2 separate regions of the Homo sapiens genome follow, and region 2 is linked to region 1. Evidence: promoter capture Hi-C in human tissues and cell types (Jung and others, 2019). All regions are on one chromosome and are shown on one strand. Each heading gives the region's core, a stretch centred on a gene start or on the middle of the fragment in contact. The rest is flanking DNA. Distances are from core to core; before and after follow the strand shown. Region 1 holds the start of CARD14 (caspase recruitment domain family member 14). Region 2 overlaps RPTOR (regulatory associated protein of MTOR complex 1).

Region 1 (5,721 bases), core at 929-3,428:
TTTTTTTTAAAATTATTTTTTGTAGAGACAGGGTCTTCCTGTGTTGCCCAGGCTGGTCTCGAACTCTTGGCCTCAAGCAATCCTCCCTCCTCAGCCTCTCAATGCACTGGGGTTACAGGCATGAGCCACTGCACCTAGCCTAAGATATGGTTTTTGACCTCAGAAAACACAGGGTCCTTCAGGGTTGTGGCTTCCTTGACTGTTTCTTTTTATTTTATTTTATTTTAGGTTCCGGGATACATGTGCAGAATGTGCAGGTTTGTTACATAAGTAGACATGTGCCATGGTGGTTTGCTACACCTGTCAACCCATCACCTAGGTTTTAAGCCCCACGTGCATTAGCTATTTGTCCTGATGCTCTCCCTCCACTCCCCCTACCATAGGCCCCAGTGTGTGTTGTTCCCCTCCCTGTGTCCATGTGTTCTCATTGTTCAGCTCCCACTTATGAGTGAGAACATGCAGTGTTTGGGTTTCTGTTCCCATGTTAGTTTGCTGAGAATGATGGCTTCCAGCTTCATCCATGTCTCTGCAAAGGCCCTTCATTCCTTTCTATGGCTGCACCTTGACTATTTCTATGGCTATTTCTGTTCTTAGGGAGGCTCCTCCCATCTCCAGTGCATTCTTCTGCCCCCCTCTTTTACTGGGAATGGCGGCATTTCTTTGCGTTTTCTGTAACTAGAATTCTCTGTGTGGCTGGCACAGTGTGATGAGCTGGCAAGCTTCCCCACTGTGGGGGAGGGCTTATCATGAGGTCTGCTGGAGGAAACTAAGAGAGCTGAGCCTTAGGGGCTTAAATGAACTGCCTGAGGGGAAGCTGACACCCAGTGGGGCTGTAACCCTGGTTGGAGAGTTCATGTCTGCACCTGGCCTCGGCCTGCGTTCTCACTTGCTCTGCCCAACTGGCTGTGCCTTCAGCCGGCTCATCACCAGGAGATTTGGGTTGGAGCTACTGCTCAGCCACCATGAGCTACATGACCTTGAAGGCCGATCTTTGATTGTCCGCAGGATAATCCTGAAGGTTCTCAGGCCATGGACCTGTGAATTTCCCTTCTTTCAGTGTCTGCATCATTGGGAACCAAGCCCCTAACCAATGTTTATTCATTCGCTCAACCAATATTTGTGGAATATCACAGCCCTAGGGGTGGGGACACAGCAGGGAACAAGAAAGACAAGAATTATTGTCCTCAGTAGGTTACTGTGGAGTGGGGAGGCTGGCAGGAAGCCACGTAACTAGAATACACGTTAGGTCAAGGCAGTATTCCCACAGAGAAGATGGAACAGGGAAGGGGAGTGAAGGCCAGGATGGGAGGTCTACGGACTTAAGTAGGATGATCTGGGAAGTAGCATTTGAGTAGAGTCTGGAAGGAGGGATGGGAAAGAGTGTTCCAGGCAGTGGGAACAGCAGGTGCAAAGGCCCTGGGGCAGAAGTGTGCCTGGACTGTCAAGACTGTTGGGCTGTGTGTCTGGAGCAGGTAAAAGAGAGATAAGGTCAGCAAGGACCTGATAAGCAGAGCCTCATGGTCACGCTGAGGACTCCAGGACCTGTACACCGAAGGGAATGACAGGAGCTGACTCATGCCCTAGCAGGACTTCTCTGTCTGCTGTGTTGAGCGCTGGTGATGGGGGCGTGGGAAGAAGTTAGGAGCCATTACAGAGGTCCCGGTGGGCCATGATCAGGACACCACAATGCAGGTGGTGAGAATGGATCGGATTCTAGACATATCTCAAGGTGGAGGACCAAGACTTTCATCTAAATCTAAACAATAGTTATGAAATGTTAACTTGAGATGGATCTATTGGAATTATTCAGATACTTCCAATAATGGATCATGAGAACCAAGAAAGGCCCTAGAATTTATCCTGATCTTCGTAGGATTTTCCCAAGGGTAGAAATGATGATGAACTGGGTGACCGTTCACAAAGGAGAGAGGATTCCCAGCCCCCAAGCCTGAAGCCTTCCCCTCAATCACCCTCAATCACCATCTTCTGTGGGTCGACCAGATGCACGGACTGTTCTCAGCCATCCCTGTGGTTCTTACGGCAATGTCTAGCTGTGGGACTGCACTGGTGCTTCGATGGCTCATAGAAGCCCCATATAAGGCACTGCTCCTGTGGGATGTGCCTGTCAAACCTGCTTGTCCACTGCCGTTCAGTTCAGCCAGAGATTGGGCCACATTCAGTCCTCGCTTCCCTGGGAGGGGGAAGGTAAGTGCGCGCAGTCCATCCGGCGAAGAGCAGGTCAGCCTACGGAGGGCTCAGCCTACGGAGGGGCTCAGCCGACACAGGTCTGATGGGGCCCGAGAGTGGTCCCAGGGGAGTGGGAGGGGCCGGCATCTTCCTCATCAGGAGTGGAGGAGCTGCCTTGTATGTGGACTAGAGAACAGAAAACGGCTTGTCTGTGTTGCTGGGTCAATCACTGGAACATTCTCTGAATGCTGAGTTCTGCCTTAAAACAGCATGGGTCATGCTAGATGAAAGGGATCTCTGTTTTATACTCTCATCTCTTCGCTATTGCCGTGGGATGAAAGACAGCAGAAGGAAGGTGTCTAAGTTCAGAACAAAGTGAGCAAGACCAGCTGGCTGCTGTTGGTAGCAGAGGCACAGCCAGCCTGTCATGGCACTGGGGGGCCGAGGTGAGCTGTGCCCCCTCCTCCTGGGCTTGTGACCCTCTGCCCCCCATGGGGTATGTACATGTGTGTGTGTGCGTGTGCGTGTGTGTATGTGTACATGCCTTCTTCCCTACTTCACTGGCAAGGGAAGAGACTGACACTTGGGTTAGGAGAAGGATGTTGACCTGGGAGGGGTCAAATAAGGAGAACCCACATCTTAGATGCTCAGGATTTTATGATCTTAGGCTCTTCTAGAATTGCTGTACAGTTAGATTCAGAGTTTGGAATTAGAGATCTCTGGGCCCTCCCCTCCCCTCCCGTCCCCTCCCCTCCCGTCCCCTCCCCTCCTCTCCCCTCCCCTCCTCTCCCCTCTCCTCCCCTCCCCTCTTCTCTCCTTTTTCAGAAGTCTCCCTCTGTCGCCCAGGCTAGAGTTGCAGTGGCACAATCTCGGCTCACTGCAATTTCTGCCTCCTGGGTTCAGGTGATTCTCCTGCCTCAGTCTCCCAAGTAGCTGGGACTATAGGTGCACGCCACCACACCTGGTTAATTTTTTTATTTTTAGTAGAGACAGGGTTTTGTCACGTTGGCTAGGCTGGTCTCAAACTCCTGACTTCAGGTAATCCGCCCATCTTGGTCTCCCAAAGTGCTGGGATTACGGGCGTGAGCCACGGCTCCTGGCGCCTTCCCATTCACCTTCCCCTTCCCCTCCCCTTCCTCCCTCCCTCCCTCCCTCCCTCCCTCCCTCCCTTCCTTCCTTCCTTCCTTCCTTCCTTCCTTCCTTCCTTCTCTCTCTCCTTCCCTTCCTTCCTCTCTCTTTCTTTTCTTCTTTTCTTTCTTTCTTTCTCTCTCTCTCTCTTTCTTTCTTTTCCTTTTTTTGAGCCAGGGTCTTGCTCTGTCACCCAGGCTGGAGGGCAGTGGCACAATCATAGCTCACTGCAGCCTTGAACTCTTGAGCTCAAGCAATCCTCCTGCCTTGGCCTCCAAAGTGCTGGGATTACAGGCCTGAGCCACTGTGCCCAGCCCTAAGGTTTTTTGTTTTGTTTTGTTTTGTTTTACTGTTAGGACTAACCCTTATTTACACTGGGACAAGTTACAAAGAAACTCCTGCAATTGTTAACTGCCATTGGAGACTACTGTAAGTTGCTTCATGGCAACTGCAGAAGGGACTAGTGACTTCTATTTAGCTCCACCCACTGATGCTTGAAGTTCAGTGTGGCTCTGGGGGCTCCAGAAGCCTGAGGGGCAGCTGGCTGGGGCAGTTGGCTGGGGTCTGGAGAGTTCTGCAGAGCCCCTGTCTTCAGCTGCTGGTGAGGCAGCTTTGGCTTGAGCTGCCCTGGCTTTCTGAGTTCAGTCTGATGGGAGGGCACAGTCAGCACCCTCAGACCCTCCTCAGGAGTCTTGTGAGGCTCGGGCAAGTCAGGGGCAGAGGGACAATCCAACTAGAGGACCCTCCCAGACCCGGTCGTTGCCACCTGGACCCAGCCCCAGGAAGGCACCCGAGAAACCTGTAGTCCTCGGCTGACCACCAGTCCTGGTCCTCAGGATATCCGCAGAGACCTGGCTGTCCAGAACTCCCAGGGTTTCAGCTGCAAGCTGGAGATGTGGCCCCTTGGCAACTCGATATAGTAAGATACTGGAGAGCGTGCCAGAGTGTCATTTGCTAGAAACAAACATTATACTGCGGTAAGCCCTAGTTTTTCAGTCATTGGCTCTTTGGCACCAACTTAATCACAAGGCCATTGGCCCCAAAGAAAGGCCTTGTAGGCGACTGTTTAGGGACACCTGTATTTTCCATCTGCCTTGGAACCTCTAGGCTCAGGCCGAATGCCTATTGAAGTAGATGTTTCGTAAGAGATTTGGGGGCAAATACTGGGATTTTATAAAGATGCTGCACTCTCCTTCACTAAGTAGAAAGCTGAGAAATCCTGCCCTGAGGGGAAGAAACAGTTGTCTTCCTGACTGATGCATCCTAGACCAGCCAAGACTTCCTCCCGCTTTCCTTCTTCTAGAACTTTCCCCACTTCAGCCAGTATCTGTCATCCCCTGGGCTCCCACCCTCTCCATGTGCCGCTTTCATCGGGGCTGAGGGGAGCAGGAGAGGAGACGTTTCTGCTGGTGTCCCCGCTGTAGCTGGAGGAGCTCGGCGTCGGCGTGCCTTCGCCTCCCCTTGCCATGATGCCCCCTAAACCGAGTCTGTATTGAGAGAGAAAGGTGGCACCGTTGATCATTACTCCAGGACAAGAGTCATAAAAGGACTGTCCCAGACAACCTAGGACCCCAGTGTTCTGTGGCGAACACTTCTAGGATGAGGCCCATCTCCTTCTCTGTTTCATCAATTGGATTAATTTTATTGTTTTCTAAAATAATGACTATGGTTTTTATTGAACCCATACTTGCTTATTCTAAACATTCTTTTTTTTTTTTTTTTTTTTTTTTTTGAGGTAGAGTTTCACTCTGGCTCCTAGGCTGGAATGCAGTGGCACCATCTCAGCTCTCTGCAACCTCCACTTCCCAGGTTCAAGCGATTCTCCTGCCTCACCCTCCTGAGTAGCTGGGACTACAGGCGAGCACCACCACAGCCGGCTAATTTTTCTATTTCTAGTAGAAATGGGGTTTCACCATGTTGGCAGGCTGGTCTCGAACTCTGACCTCAAGTGATCTGCCTGCCTCAGCCTCTGAAAGTGCTGGATTGCAGGCGTGAGCCACCGCACCAGGCCTAAACAGATTTCTTTACAATCTACCACCATGAACAGCAAGCATTAGCATTGGTGAGGAGTGTTCCAGAATCCCTCTGCTCTCTGCCTCTCCATTTCTCTCCCCCTCTCTTTCTCTCTCATGCACACACACACACACACACACACACACGCGCGCGCGCGCGCGCGGAATGACAGGACAGACTGATCGGCAGATTGGATGAATGGATGGATGGGCACATAGATTGAGGGACTCCCAGAGATAAACTAACACCATTTTATAAAAATGGTATCATATTCTACATGATTGAAATGTAAACTTTTAATTTTACTTAAATTTTAGTTCAGCTCAGATGTTGCTGGCAAAAGTTTTTTTTTATTATTTTTATTTTTTATGTACTGCTCCTTGAGGAGCTGGG
Region 2 (5,721 bases), core at 2,311-4,810, 590 kb after region 1:
AATGATTATCTTACTCACCATATACATCAATACACTGTAAGAATCCAAAATATATTTTTTCCCTTGGCTGTTTTCTACTTCTTTGATTGAGTGGCATAATATCATTTTAGATTTATTACGCGTCTATTTGTATACTACTGAAAATTATAACCCAGTGGGACTTCATTTGCTGTGGGACTTGCTATAAAACAGATTGATGTCTATTGCACTGTGCTGCATGCACTAGTATTGTCTATTAATGAAAATGATAAACATTATTTTGGATTGAATAGAGGTCAAAAAACTTACTTCCTTTCTTTCAATTAAGTTGAAGGATTTCCAGGACTATAAATGTTAATGATAGAGCATTAACGTGTATTTGTCAGCGTGGAAAGTTTCGCTCCTGCATTGCCCGCAGGAGACGGAAGATGCATGGGTTTCCTGGCGCGCAGGTTGGGTGGAGGCTCAGCGTGGCTCTGTCTGGCCAGGCTAAGTGGTTTGCAGTGCCTGTCTCATTTCAGACATTTGCTGTGACATTTGCTTCGTATTTTTTCCTGATGACTCAACCAAGAATCATTCAGAATTACCTTTAGAAACATAAATTCTTGTGGTTTTGATGATAGAGTTAACCATGTGTTCTCCAAGGAGTCTTCTAAAATACATCTGCTTTGCCAGAGAACACACTTTCTTCTGCCCGTTCAGTGCTCTCGGGTCTTTTGCCGCTTCCTTTCAACAACAGTCCGATGACTTTGTCTTCCTGCATATGTGCGAAGGGAGAGGAGCTCACTGGTCCTCCCAGAGGGTGAAGTAACCGGGACACATTATTGAATAAAATGCTCTTTTGTAGTATCCCACTCTGTATCTTAGACCTTAGTCGTAGGCAAGTTTAATTTGGAATTTGCGTCTGGAGAAACGGCTTTATGACGTTTCCAAGTAGAGCCTCAGTATCATGGATCTCACACAGTCCCCGCGGCAGCTTCCAGGCCGTTTCCAGAGGAAAATATTTTTTCTCCCCAAACAAGACAGTGTTCTCTCACTGTTCCAGTCTCTTGACATATACTCAATTAAGATGAATATCATAATGTATTGTAATAGAGCTCCCGTTTTAAAAGATGACGTGTAAAAACCACCTGATGGATGCGGTAAGAAAGGGAATTGAAGCAGATGGAGGGGCACGGGCTGCTGACTCCCCGGCTGAACCCCGTCCTCGGGTGCTGCAGGAAAGAGTGAGATTGATGATCCTGGAGGGAGCCCACTCAGCAGCACAGCCGGAGACTTTGCTGGTCCCTTGAGATGGCTGAGTCCCCACTGGGGGCTGGGGTGAGGGGTGAGGCCGGAGGAGACAGTGGAGCTGGCGAGGGCCCCAGGGTGCAGGCAAGGCTGAGGGCACTCGGCTCTCCTCCCACTGCCCTTGATAGGCATGGCCTGCTGTGCTGTGTCTGGGGCTCAGAAAGATGGAAAATAAGAGGGTGGAAAGAAAGAGTTTGTCCTACCGCCCTTGTGAAAAGAGAAGTAATCCAATAATAAATAAAAGTGATAAAAGACAATTGGAAATATGAAGAAGAAACAGGAAGAAAGACCAGTTGGAAGCATTAAGTATAAAAAATATAATTGGTGAAATAATTGAAGAGATGGATTGAAAAGCAACATTATGGATAGAGCCAAGAATAAACCAGGAAGCTGAGAAGCTTGTTTGAGGAGTTCCCACCAAAGGGATGGAGCTAGAAGGAAGGGGAGAAACATGAGAGGCAGAGACAAAGTTTAAATATCTAGGAAATAACATTTTCTTCTCTCTAAAAAAAAACGTAGAAAAGGAGAAAAGACAGGCTTAGTAAATAGAAAGTGTGAGATACGATGGCTAAAATGTTTTGAAATAAAGTTGTAACTGTAAACGAATTGAATTCACCTCTCAAAGGGCCATGATTCTTGTGTTGGTTAAAATCATGATACAGCAGTCTCTTGTCCATGAGACACAGATTTAAAGCAAAACGTTTAAGCCTGGGCAAAACAGCACGACCCTGTCTCTACTAAAAATTTAAAAATTAGCTGGACATGGTGGCTTATGCCTGTGGTCTCAGTTCCTCGGGAGGCTGAGGCAGGAGGATCAGTTGAGCCCAGGAGTTCAAGGCTGCAGTGAGCTGTGATTGTGCCACTGCACTCCAGCCTGGGTGACAGGGTAAGACCCAGTCTCTAAAAAAAAATAATAATAATAAAAAATAAGAACATGTATTTCAAAGGTTGGAAATCAGAAGATGAAAAAGAGAAATACGAGCTAAAAGAAAGCTGGGGTGGCCAGTCCCAATATGACTTAAAGCAGAAGCTGAGATAAATTATTGAGAGGGGCAAAGAAAAATGTTGTATTGTGGTAAAACGAACAGGAAAGCAGGAAGGTATATACTGATGATGACTGTGTGCACCTGACAACGTGGCCTCGAACGAGATAAGATGGGAGCTGAAGTGTGGATGGAAGCAGATGAATGAGAAGTGTGCTTAGATACAGAGACACCAAGTACAGACAAAGGAAGCAACGTAAATACGACTTTTGTCACCGAATTAATTAGCCAGACCTCACAGAGGCACACAGGACCATACATCCAACAGGGAATGTGGACATATGTGGACCATTCACAAAAATAAATCATGCGCCCGACTACAAAGAAAGCTTTACTAATCCGGAAGAATCAGCATCGTGTGAACTCCGTGGCAGACCACACGCAATGAAGCTAGAACTCAGTAACGAAAGGACAGCTTTAACAAAAGTCTGAAAACTAAAATCTTAAAATCCTTGGATTAAAGAGGAAATATTTTATATTTTTTATTTTTTTTTACATGTACACACTTACACATTTATTTGACTTCATTGTAGAACTTTGACATTAATCCCAATAACTAATCTCTTTATACATATTGTTTCATCCTGACATCAACCTGAACAGGGAAAATTGACTTATATAAGCACATAGCTACTATAGATGTCTTTTTAGAAACTGATTATTGATATATAGCAGAGAAACCTAAAATCTCTTTAACTAACTTGAAGTCCTGACCGTATGACTTCTTTTGTTATTTTATTTTATTTTATTTTATTTTATTTTATTTTATTTTATTTTATTTTATTTTATTATTATACTTTTAAGTTTTAGGGTACATGTGCACAATGTGCAGGTTACATATGTATACATGTGACATGCTGGTGTGCTGCACCCATTAACTCGTCATTTAGCATTAGGTATATCTCCTAATGCTATCCCTCCCCCCTCCCCCCACCCCACAACAGGCCCAGAGTGTGATGTTCCCCTTCCTGTGTCCATGTGTTCTCATTGTTCAGTTCCCACCTATGAGTGAGAACATGCAGTGTTTGGTTTTTTGTCCTTGCAATAGTTTACTGAGAATGATGATTTCCAATTTCATCCATGTCCCTACAAAGGACATGAACTCATCATTTTTTATGGCCGCATAGTATTCCATGGTGTATATGTGCCACATTTTCTTAATCCAGTCTATCATTGTTGGACATTTGGGTTGGTTCCAAGTCTTTGCTATTGTGAATAGTGCCACAGTAAACATACGTGTGCATGTGTCTTTATAGCAGCATGATTTATAGTCCTTTGAGTATATACCCAGTAATGGGATGGCTGGGTCAAATGGTATTTCTAGTTCTAGATCCCTGAGGAATCGCCACACTGACTTCCACAATGGTTGAACTAGTTTACAGTCCCACCAACAGTGTAAAAGTGTTCCTGTTTCTCCACATCCTCTCCAGCACCTGTTGTTTCCTGACTTTTTAACGATTGCCATTCTAACTGGTGTGAGATGGTATCTCATTGTGGTTTTGATTTGCATTTCTAAAGAGGAAATACTTTAAAACTGATAAAATACTCACAGCCAAATGTTAGTAATAGCACATTTGCTGTTTGTGGGGTGTATGTAGCCAAAGCAGGCGAGGATTTAATACATTTAGTCAGAAAACAAAGATTAAAAAAACAAGAAAAATTAAATGTTTGCCTTAAAGAGCCAGGGGAAAAATGCAATAAACAGATGAAAAACAAAATGAAGAGAGCGAATCTGAAAGATACAGGCAGCCCTACGCTGTCCGTCGCATCTCTGCATCCATAGGGTCTCTGCTTCATTTCCTGGGAGTCCTGCCAGTGTGGGAGGGGGCGTCCAGGGCCTCTGAACACTCTTCTCACAGATTTTCATCTGGGCACTTGCTCTCAGTTCTTCTTTTCAGAGAGCCAGTTGTCTCAGTTCTTGATACTTGCTGACAGCAGGCTTTGGGAGGTGAGTGCTTCATTTTGACTTTGCACCGTCCAGGTCAAAGGCTTCACTTCTCTCACCTCTGCTGAGCCACTTACGCTTGTCCAACTGTTTCTTAACGTTTGGTTGACATTTTACAGTTACAGGGATAACAGTAGCTAGCATTTGTCGAGCGTCACTGGAGCCATTCCACTAATGCACTCATCTAACACCACACGCCTGTAAGGTTTGGACTGGCGTTAGTGCTGCTTTCAGGATGAGGAAGTTCAGGTTGCTTGGAGAGTAGCTGGTGGAGTCAGGATTCAAAGCTGGGTGCCCAGGCTCCCGAACTGACAGCCTCAACTCTGTTGTTCCGCCTCTCTCTCTCCTGCCCAGCGTCTCTCATTTGCCATGATTTCCTTCCTGGGGCTCTCCGTCCTTGTCCTGTTCTTTTTCTCTCGTTATGGAGGAAGTTGAGATCACTATCATCTATAGTCTGTCACGTCTAAATAGAGGTTACCACGACTTACTTAACGTGGTAAAGGCTACATCAGAGCTCTTCAGCAAACCAGCCTAGTGGGGAGACTGGAGACGTCTTCCCTTCGAAGCTGGGAACAAGGCAAAGATTCTCTCTCGCACTAAAACAGTATTAGAATTCCTGACCCCCAGTAAGATAACTCCATAACCAGCAGAAGGAATGTGAACATTTGTAATTATCTGTTTACAGTAAGGGCCATCTAACATAGTTCACTGATTCTAGCATGTACTTTTTAAATTTTTTTTAAGACGTGATCTTGCTTTGTCACCCAGGCTGGAGTGCAGTGGTGTGAACACGGCCCACCGTAGTCTCAACTTCTCGGGCTCAAGCAATCCCCCCACCTCAGCCCCCCAGGTAACTGGGACTACAGGTGTATGCCACCATTCTGACTAATTTTTGTATCTTTTGTAGAGACTGTGTCACCATGTTGCCCAGGCTGGTCTCGAACTCCTAAGCTCAAGAGATCCTCCCACCTCAGCCTTACAAAGTGCTGGAATTACAAGCATGAGGCACCATGTCTGGTCCTTTTTTAAAAAATAGAGACAGGGTCTCTCCCTTTTACTTAGATGGGAGTGCAGTGACACAGTCATAGCTCACTGCATCCTTGAACTCCTGGGCTCAAGTGATCCTCCTGCTTTAGCCTCCCAAAGTGCTGGAATTCCAGGCATGAGCCACCACGCCTGATCCCAGCATGTGCGTTTTCACACTTAACATATCTGGGGTCCAGAAGCATCTTACAATAAGTAACATACCTGTTTAGTTGGCAGTTCTTTTCCTTTGTTAATAGTGTATAGAAATGCTTGCAAAGGTCCACCTAGAGGTGTGCACTGTACCCTTTCTTACTGCTGTTTGTAAGCTCACTGTTTGTCACTAGGGAAAGAAACAGGCACCATTACTTAACTAGGTGTTCATGTACCGGCAATAATTGATCTCAAAATTTAATGCTATTTGTAGTTTTTAATTAAAAA

Evidence for each region. Contacts are between HindIII fragments. The study calls those that stand out against the background at their distance.
Region 2: a contact is called between a fragment that was not itself captured here and the fragment with the promoter of CARD14 in region 1, in 2 of the 25 tissues and cell types used here (hippocampus and mesendoderm cells).

The regions. Positions count from the first base shown.
Region 1 is chr17:80,167,852-80,173,572 of GRCh38, forward strand. It overlaps CARD14 (caspase recruitment domain family member 14), which reads left to right and starts at 2,179. Exons shown (of 24, transcript NM_001366385.1): 1 at 2,179-2,205; 2 at 5,055-5,377. The HindIII fragment of the contact is 21,960 bases long and covers 1-5,721 here.
Region 2 is chr17:80,761,076-80,766,796 of GRCh38, forward strand. All of the region lies in intron 6 of RPTOR (regulatory associated protein of MTOR complex 1), which reads left to right. Among named protein-coding and RNA genes, the nearest start is that of RPTOR, 220 kb to the left of the region's middle. RefSeq lists enhancers at 1-1,158, 454-503. The HindIII fragment of the contact is 5,919 bases long and covers 602-5,721 here.